Linked DNA regions of Homo sapiens: all the other regions are linked to region 2. The links are contacts of gene promoters, found by promoter capture Hi-C in blood cells and fetal thymus (Javierre and others, 2016). All regions are on one chromosome and are shown on one strand. The core of a region is centred on a gene start or on the middle of the fragment in contact, and the rest is flanking DNA. Distances in the headings are between cores, read along the strand shown. Region 1 has its middle 180 kb from the start of EPS8. Region 2 holds the start of STRAP (serine/threonine kinase receptor associated protein). Region 3 overlaps PTPRO (protein tyrosine phosphatase receptor type O).

The links. The method cuts DNA at HindIII sites, captures the fragments that hold promoters and counts their contacts. A CHiCAGO score of 5 or more calls a contact.
Region 1: a fragment that was not itself captured here is called in contact with the fragment with the promoter of STRAP in region 2 in 5 of 17 cell types (M0 macrophages, M2 macrophages, M1 macrophages and 2 more); the score reaches 8.3 in M0 macrophages.
Region 3: a contact is called between a fragment that was not itself captured here and the fragment with the promoter of STRAP in region 2, in 14 of 17 cell types (monocytes, M2 macrophages, M1 macrophages and 11 more). The highest score is 14.1, in monocytes.

The regions. Positions count from the first base shown.
Region 1 is chr12:15,609,172-15,611,871 of GRCh38, forward strand. No RefSeq gene overlaps it. Among named protein-coding and RNA genes, the nearest start is that of EPS8, 180 kb to the right of the region's middle. The HindIII fragment of the contact is 637 bases long and covers 951-1,587 here.
Region 2 is chr12:15,880,890-15,883,701 of GRCh38, forward strand. It overlaps STRAP (serine/threonine kinase receptor associated protein), which reads left to right and starts at 1,498. Exons shown (of 10, transcript NM_007178.4): 1 at 1,498-1,930; 2 at 2,652-2,787. The coding sequence starts at 1,819. It overlaps LOC102724146 (a long non-coding RNA gene), which reads right to left and starts at 1,409. Exons shown (of 6, transcript XR_007063230.1): 1 at 891-1,409; 2 at 218-310. RefSeq lists enhancers at 916-1,145, 1,456-1,575. The HindIII fragment of the contact is 32,342 bases long and covers 1-2,812 here.
Region 3 is chr12:15,568,975-15,571,775 of GRCh38, forward strand. PTPRO (protein tyrosine phosphatase receptor type O) reads left to right here. Exons shown (of 27, transcript NM_030667.3): 19 at 443-524. Among named protein-coding and RNA genes, the nearest start is that of EPS8, 220 kb to the right of the region's middle. RefSeq lists an enhancer at 2,067-2,256. The HindIII fragment of the contact is 5,261 bases long and covers 1-2,801 here.

The sequences.
Region 1 (2,700 bases), core at 19-2,518, 270 kb before region 2:
ATGAAAGATACCAAAAAGAACCTTGAAAAAAGCCAAAGGGAAAAGCATGAATGATGGCTGCCATGTCATCAGGAACGATGAAAGCCAAAAATCAATGAAATGGCATTTTTAAAGTGCTAGAGTTAAAAATGGTAACCTAGAATTTTGTATACAGTGAAAATATGCTTTAAAAAGCAAGGTGAAACTGCTCCCACTTTTGGCCAAGGTGGAGTCAGATGGACTAGATTTACCCTCCACTCTGAAACAATTGAAAAAAACAAAATATATGAAAGGGCGGTTTTCAAGATATTGAACACTAGGCAATGAATGCCAGTCATCACAGAAAGATAAATGCATGAGGAAATCCTACAATTGTTCCAGCTTTCTGCCTAAAGATTGTTTCTGGCTGGGTGCAGTGGCTCACGCCTGTAATCCTAACACTTTGGGAGGTCAAGGCAGGAGGATCGCTTGAAGCCAGGTGTTTAAGACTAGTGAGACCCTGACTCTAAAAAAAAAAAAGAAAAAATACACACAAAACAAAAAGATTGTTTCTAAGCTATAGTGCAGGGAGACCATGAGGACTCCAGATCCCTTCAGTTGAGAAGACAAGTTGATAGTGTGAGAAGGACAAGGGAACTAAAGTTCACAGGACAGAGTGGCGGAGAGGAGAGAACTATACAAAGAGAGAGCTCCACAGATCTTCACAGGGTCCCCATAGATTCTTCAAGTTAGTATTGATAAGGGCATACATAGGAGAAAACCGCCCAAGGCTGAGAAAAGAACCACCTGAAAGAATTGGAAGGAACAATTTCCAGAGCTGACACAGGATCAGAAATAGTTCTCATTCCCACCAGCCAAAGTGAAAGACATTATAATTCGTGGAACAATAGGTGGAATATTCAGAAGGGATTTGCTTAATGGTGGGATAAAATTAGCCCTTGTATAAATACTGCTTTGGTTTAACCTGACAAAGCTTAAAAGCAAGATCAGAAAGGATCAAACTATTTCCAAGTAACTTAATAGTATCCCAAAACAAAGCTCAATAATATTTTATAAAAATAAAAGTATGCAACATATAAGATAAAATTCCCAATGTCTGACATCAAATTAAAAATTATATGCCATACAGAGAAATGAGACCTCTAGTGAAGGCAACAAAATCAATTAAAATCAAGCTAGAAGCTACAAAGATGATAGAATAAACAAGGATATTAAGACAGATTTTTTTTTCAATTTTCTATTATGGTAAAATATACACAAAATTCACCATCTTTAACATGTTTATGTGTATGATTCAGTGGTATTAAATACATTCATAATGCTATGCAATCATATCACTGCTGTTCTTCTCCAAAACACTTTTCATCTTGTTAAATGGAAACTCTATACCCATTAAACAGTAACTGTGGATATTAGTCCCTTAACAGACATACAACTTGGAAACATTTTCTCCAAATACGTGGGCCGCCATTTTTGCTCTGTTGATAGTGTATTTTCATGCACAACTAAAAAAAAAAATTAATGAACTCCAGTTTTCTATTTTTTCCTTATACTTTCTCTGTTTTTGGTATAATATCCAAGAAACAATTGCCAAATTCAATGTTGTAAAGCTTTTGCCCTATGTTTTCTTCTAAGAGTTTCATAGTTTTAGGTCTCACATTTAGGTCACGGATCCATTCAAGTTAAAGGCCCCAACTTCATTCTTTTGTATGTGAATACCTAGTATTTCCAGCACTGTTTGTTGAAAAGACTGTTTTCTCCCCTATTGACTGGTCTTGGCACCCCTGTGAAAACTCATTTGACCATACAGGCAACGGTTTATTTCTGGACTCTATTCTATTTCATTGGTCTACATGTCTGTCTTTTGTTTTTCAACTTTTATTTTAGATTTGGGGGTACATGTACAGATTTGTTACAAAGGTATATCACGTGATGTTGAGGTTTGGGGTGTGAACACACCCATCACCCAGATAGTACCCCATAGGTAACAAAGTACCCCATAAGTAGCTTTTTCACCCTTGCCTCGACCTCTGTCCCTCCCCCCTTTTGGAGTCCCCAGTGTCTACTCTTCCCATCTTTATGTCCATGAGTACCCAGTGTTTAGCTCCAACTTATAAGTGAGAACATGTAGTATTTGTTTTTCCATTTCTGCATTAATTCACTTAGGATAATGGCCTCCAGTGCCATCCATTCTGCTGCAAAGAACATGATTTCAGTCTTTTTATGGCTGGGTAGTATTCCATGGTGTATATTTTCCACAATTTCTTTATGCAATCTATTGTTGGTGGGCACTGAAGTTGATTCCATGTCTTTGCTGTAGTGAATAGTGCTATATGGACATGAAGGTGTATGTCTTTTTGGTAGAATGATTTGTTTTCTGCTCTTATTGCCCAGGCTGGAATGCAATGGCACGATCTCGGCTCACCACAAACTCTGCCTCCTGGGTTCAAGCGATTCTCAGCCTCCTGAGTAGCTGGGATTACAGGCATGCACCACCATGCCCAGCTAATTTTGTATTTTTAGTAGAGATGGGGTTTCTTCATTTTGGTCAGGCTGGTCTCGAATGCCCAACCTCAGGCCTCCCAAAGTGCTGGGATTATAGGCATGAGCCACTGTGCCCAGCCGATTTGTTTTCTTTTGGATGTATACCCAGTAATGGAATTGCTAGATCAAATAATAGTTCTGTTTTTTTGAGAAATCTCCAAACTGCTTTCCACAGTG
Region 2 (2,812 bases), core at 248-2,747:
CAACAATCTATTTAATCAGTAAACAGTCATGCTGAGTATTCACTAAATGCCATTCACTTTTCTGGCACTAGAGTACAAATGACAAAGCCATAACCATTGCCATTAAGGAGTTCATAAATGTGTGAGTGGTGCGTATGTGTGAGACAAAAGGGAGAGGATGGCACAAAGGAGGAGTCGAACAAGATAAAATGAAAAACATATATAGTAAGTGCTTTACCGTAAGTGAATGAACGAGAGTACTAAGGAAAAAGAATGGAGACGTATTTCAAGTTCTCACGTTGTTTGACTCGAATCTTGTAGACGGTGTTTGCTGCAAAAAGATGAAGAAAACATTCACAGACATTTATGTTGATTACATATTTATTGCTATGTGCCCAGACGTTTTGACCTTGGGGATAAAGTAGCAAAGAAAACACAAAAATCTCTGTTGTATTGGGTTTACATTCTATCAATAAAGATACAACTTGCCCAGAGAAAAGCCCTCTCCTGGTTAGGAAACAGTATCAACAATTAACAGCTCTGGTGGTTTCACAGAGCCACAGTGGGCTGCCTGCTGCAGACAATATCAGAGTTTGTTTATATTTAAATATTATTTTAATATTTCTATTTTTGTCCATGTATTATAATGCACATCTATGTAATTTGCAAATCATCACTCATATATACATCATATCAAAAGGTGTAAAAGTTTTTGATAGAATTCAGCATTCATTCGCTTATAAAATGAGTGAAGGCTCACTTTACGGATGAGAGTATTTCATCAAAAAAATTGGGGATCTACGACTCTAGAGTTCTCCGAAGTCCACCAAGGAAAAAGTAACTTGAATTTAATCGCATTTAAAACTATATAGTATCCACTCCTAAAACATTAGCAACATAGGAAAACTTACACAGCGGAAGAAATGACTGGGGATTTTTTTTTTTTTTTTAATACATGGTCTCGCTCTGTTGCCCAGGCTGGAGTGCGGTGGCGCGAGCACCGCTTACTGCGGTGTCGACCTCTCGGGCTCGAGTTATCCTCCCACCTCAGCCTTCCAAGTAGGTGGGACCACAGGCACCACCACTCCAAGCCCGTATATGGTTTTTAAATAAGACAAATTGCAAAAAACGTTGCCAGACAGCGTTCGCTGGTTTGGGCCGTCACTGGGTATGGCTCGTGTCCGTCTAGATATTCAGAGGCCGAGCACAGTCCTCAGTAGGGCTGCTCGGCAGGTACACAGCTGACGCTGGTCCTTGGACTTATGGGAGTGGGAACAACTTTCAACTCGGCCGCGGACCAGGAAGGCGTTCTGACCCGCTAGAGCTCGGGGACAGGGACCCCATCCCGGTGCCTAGAGCGTCTCCCTTAGTCGGCGTGGGCCAGCGCCAGTTACCTCACGAGCACTGAACTAGCGCCTGCGCCCTTCTATACTTCTCGCTCTTTCTTCAAGTCACTTCTACCCGGCGAGCCCGCCCTCCCGCCAATCGTCATTTCCGGCGGGTGCTCTGCGTCATTTACGTCGTCACTTCCTGCCGATGCCGGTGTGGACGCTGTGAATCGTGGCTGGCCCGGTTCTCCGCTTCTCCCCATCCCCTACTTTCCTCCCTCCCTCCCTTTCCCTCCCTCGTCGACTGTTGCTTGCTGGTCGCAGACTCCCTGACCCCTCCCTCACCCCTCCCTAACCTCGGTGCCACCGGATTGCCCTTCTTTTCCTGTTGCCCAGCCCAGCCCTAGTGTCAGGGCGGGGGCCTGGAGCAGCCCGAGGCACTGCAGCAGAAGAGAGAAAAGACAACGACGACCCTCAGCTCGCCAGTCCGGTCGCTGGCTTCGCCGCCGCCATGGCAATGAGACAGACGCCGCTCACCTGCTCTGGCCACACGCGACCCGTGGTTGATTTGGCCTTCAGTGGCATCACGCCTTATGGGTATTTCTTAATCAGCGCTTGCAAAGGTGAGCAAGGCCGCAATCCTGGTCCTCGACGGCTGGGACTGGGCTGAAAGGGATCGGGACCCGCACGCTCCAGTGCCGAAGCGGTGGTGTGGTGAGGGGGGAGGGGGCGATATTAACATCTGAGATGAGAGCCAACACTGGTCCGGTGGAGAAAGGAGTGTGTTAGGGAATCCGCAGCTGGAGCCGAGAGGACGCTTTTGTAGAAACTATTACCTCCAACTAAGACCTCTCTCCTTATTTTATTTTTATTGCTATTTTTGAAGGAGCTGGTCAGCATTTGCCTAGACTCTCGGGACAACACGGTAAATAGCTTTCAAGGATTTGGGGAAAGGAGAAATTAGGCCAGGCCGTGCAATACCTTACAAAGACGTTCGCTCTTGTCTCACTGGATATTCCTTTGTGGTATTAGCCTCATTTTTCAAATGGGAAACTGAGATTCAGGCTAAGATGTCTGTCCAAAATAAGACTAAAATCTAGATTGTTTTGACGCAGATCAGTATTCCCAGCCAATTACAGATGCTTTTCAGAGAGAATGATCTGTTCAGCTCTTCAGTTAATTTATTACTGCACATTCCTTAGTGCCTTCAGTGGGTGGTGGTAGTTAAATAGCTGAAACAATTTTTCCACTTTGTCATTGAACATCATTGTATATTTACATTTGAATCTTAGACTTTAAGTAATCTGAACTTATAAATTACATGTTTTAAAAAATATTTTCTAGATGGTAAACCTATGCTACGCCAGGGAGATACAGGAGACTGGATTGGAACATTTTTGGGTCATAAAGGTGCTGTTTGGGGTGCAACACTGAATAAGGATGCCACCAAAGCAGCTACAGCAGCTGCAGATTTCACAGCGTAAGTGTAGCCAAGATGGCTAACT
Region 3 (2,801 bases), core at 168-2,667, 310 kb before region 2:
TTTATGGATGAGAACATTGACTCTGAAGAGTTAGGCGATTCTCTAGGATAACACAGTCAATAAAGCAAAACCATAACTCAAACAGGTCTTTGGAATCCATTCCTTTGTTATTTTCCATATGCCAGAGTTTTTTAGAAGCAACACAGATGGGGGTGTGTGTATACGAGTATGCATATATATACTACTGTACTGCTACAGTAAGAGCCAAGTGGAAATCTAGAGATTTCTCCTATCAAGGAAGCTGGATATATATGCCCTTCTTTTCAATTGCAATATATTAAGGATTGGTAACTTGAACCAAAAAAAAAAGGTGAGTGCTAACCTTAGAGAAGTAAAACTTCTATTTTCTCCAAGAAGATTAAGAAGTATGATATTAAACAATATATAATACCTATCAACAAGAATTTTAAAATGTATGTATATTTCTTTGTGTTTGGCAAAGCCCGGTTCAACTGGATGACTTTGATGCCTATATTAAGGATATGGCCAAAGACTCTGACTATAAATTTTCTCTTCAGTTTGAGGTGAGTTGGTTAAGGCATTTTCTACCTTCTGTAATGGAAAGGGCCTGGGAATTGGGGGGTTTGTGTTGCGGTCATGTCCCTGCTCACTGGCAGTGCGTAACAAAAAGGGTATTGGCCTGGGGATTGCTGATCTGCTGGTTTAGAGCAAGGGTTGTCAATCCTTGCTTAGTAGGCAAGGCCTCAGGTGGCACAAATGAGATGAGGGGAAGAAGAGAATAGGTGCAGGTACTGAGGTGAGCAAACATGGGTATAGTAGAAGCCATCATTGAAAACCAGGGAAATCGAGAGTACAAGAAGAAAAATGCAAGCTGAGGCATGAAGCCTGAGACAGAATTTCCCTTTCAGGGGATTTGTAGTGTTTCTCATGCTTCTTAGGCCACAGTAGTGGCGGATAGTGGATAAAACTGACCCCCTTTGTGTCCTGGGCACATAACATCCTGGAGTAGGGCTTTTCAAGCTATAGGACTCCTGGCATTCTACTTAATAACTTTTGTGCAGTTTTATTTTCTTTCCTTGGACAAATTGGGGAGATAAAGTTACACATGATTTGTGTTAAGAAAAAAATTGACAACATCTCTTTTTTTCCGAAGGACACATATTTCTTTGGATCTAAAACCATATGTCAGAAGAGATGGAAGTGAGTGAGTCTAATATCTCAGCAGTGTGGGGGAAGATAATTAGTTCTCACTTTTTCTTTCTACATATTTTATAGCTCATAACACAGTCTAAATGGCCCCCCATCCTTCAGGTTTCTATAGCATGGCTTGAGTGGTCAGTGATTCAGGGAAAAGGGGAAGATAAAGTGATTTTTCTAAATTCTGTAGTTTTTTTTTTTTATAAAGCCTTTTAAGTGCTCTTTTCTATTAAGGTAGCTGCTTTTTCTTCAGTTTTTAAAATCATTTCTCCTTTCCACTTCTCAGCCAAGGACAGCTTTAGTCTGCAAAAAGCATCAGTGGTCCTGGTGTGGAGACACTAATGGGGAATTTGAGGATGAGAAGAATCTTATACATTACCAAATACAAAGACCGCTAACTACCACCTGTGTCCTGAAAAATTCCACACAGAGCCTGCTCACTTATCCATTGTATCCAGGTGCATAGGATATTATAGATGCTACACCAAATGCTATACTCAAAGAAATTCAATTTGAATTGGAAATGAATGAGGAGGATGGCATTTCAGAAAGTATATCAAGGAAAGGAGGACTTTTTTTCTAAGCAAACATGAGGCAAAACTCTGAAAAAATAAATAGCTAGATGATTCTAACGATGATAGAAATTATGGTATAGCTACACTTTTACCTTATTAAAGCCACATTTTCTTAATTCCTTCAAGATGGCATGCCCTTGGTGGCACAGCTGGATCATAACCTCTGCTGGCAACTCACAGTTTATGTCTTGAAACCCAAGCATAACTATTACTGTTTCTGAATTGCATGAAAAAAAATTCAACAAGTCATTTTCCAGTAAACATATTCTTTTAGTTGTGAGTGACAAAAACATAGCTCAAACTTGTTTAAACTAAAGGAAAGGGGGTTTATTCAAAGGATACTAAGGTATCTCATACAATCAAAGAAAAGGTTGAGTAGCTAGACTACGTGCAGGGAAGCAGCACAGTTTCAGGGATGACTGGAGCCAGGGGCCCCTCTATTTCTCATTTCTGCTTCTCTCTCTGTTTTGGTTTCACTTTGTTTCACTGAACAAAGAGAAACAAAGAGAAACGCAGCCAGAGAGGGCAGATGTTTGTGTTCAGTGAAACAACAAACAACCTCTTTTTCTGTCACTTTTGTTTTGTTTTGTTTTGTTTTTTGAGACAGTCTCACTCTGTTGCCCAGGCTAGAGAGCAGTGGCGCGATCTTGGCTCACTGCAACCTCCGCCTCCCAGGTTCAAGTGATTCTCCTGCCTCAGCCTCCTGAGTAGCTGGGACTACAGTTGCCCACCACCATGCCCGGCTAACTTTTGTATTTTTAGTAGAGACAGGGTTTCACCATATTGACTAGTCTGGTCTCGAACTCCTTACCTTGTGATCTAGCTGCCTCAGCCTCCCAAAGTGCTGGGATTACAGCCGTGAGCCACGATGCCCAGCCCAACCTCTTTTTCATAGTGAAAAGCAGCCAACAACAACCCTTGAGCACCACAGCCTTTTGTTTCCATGGTTTCCAAAGGGAATTACTGTCTGTCTTTCTTGTTTGTAGTTTGAAAATTAACAGGGGAGGATTTTGATGGACGAGCCTGTGTCATGGTGCCCATTCAAACCAATCACAGCCAGAGAGGGCA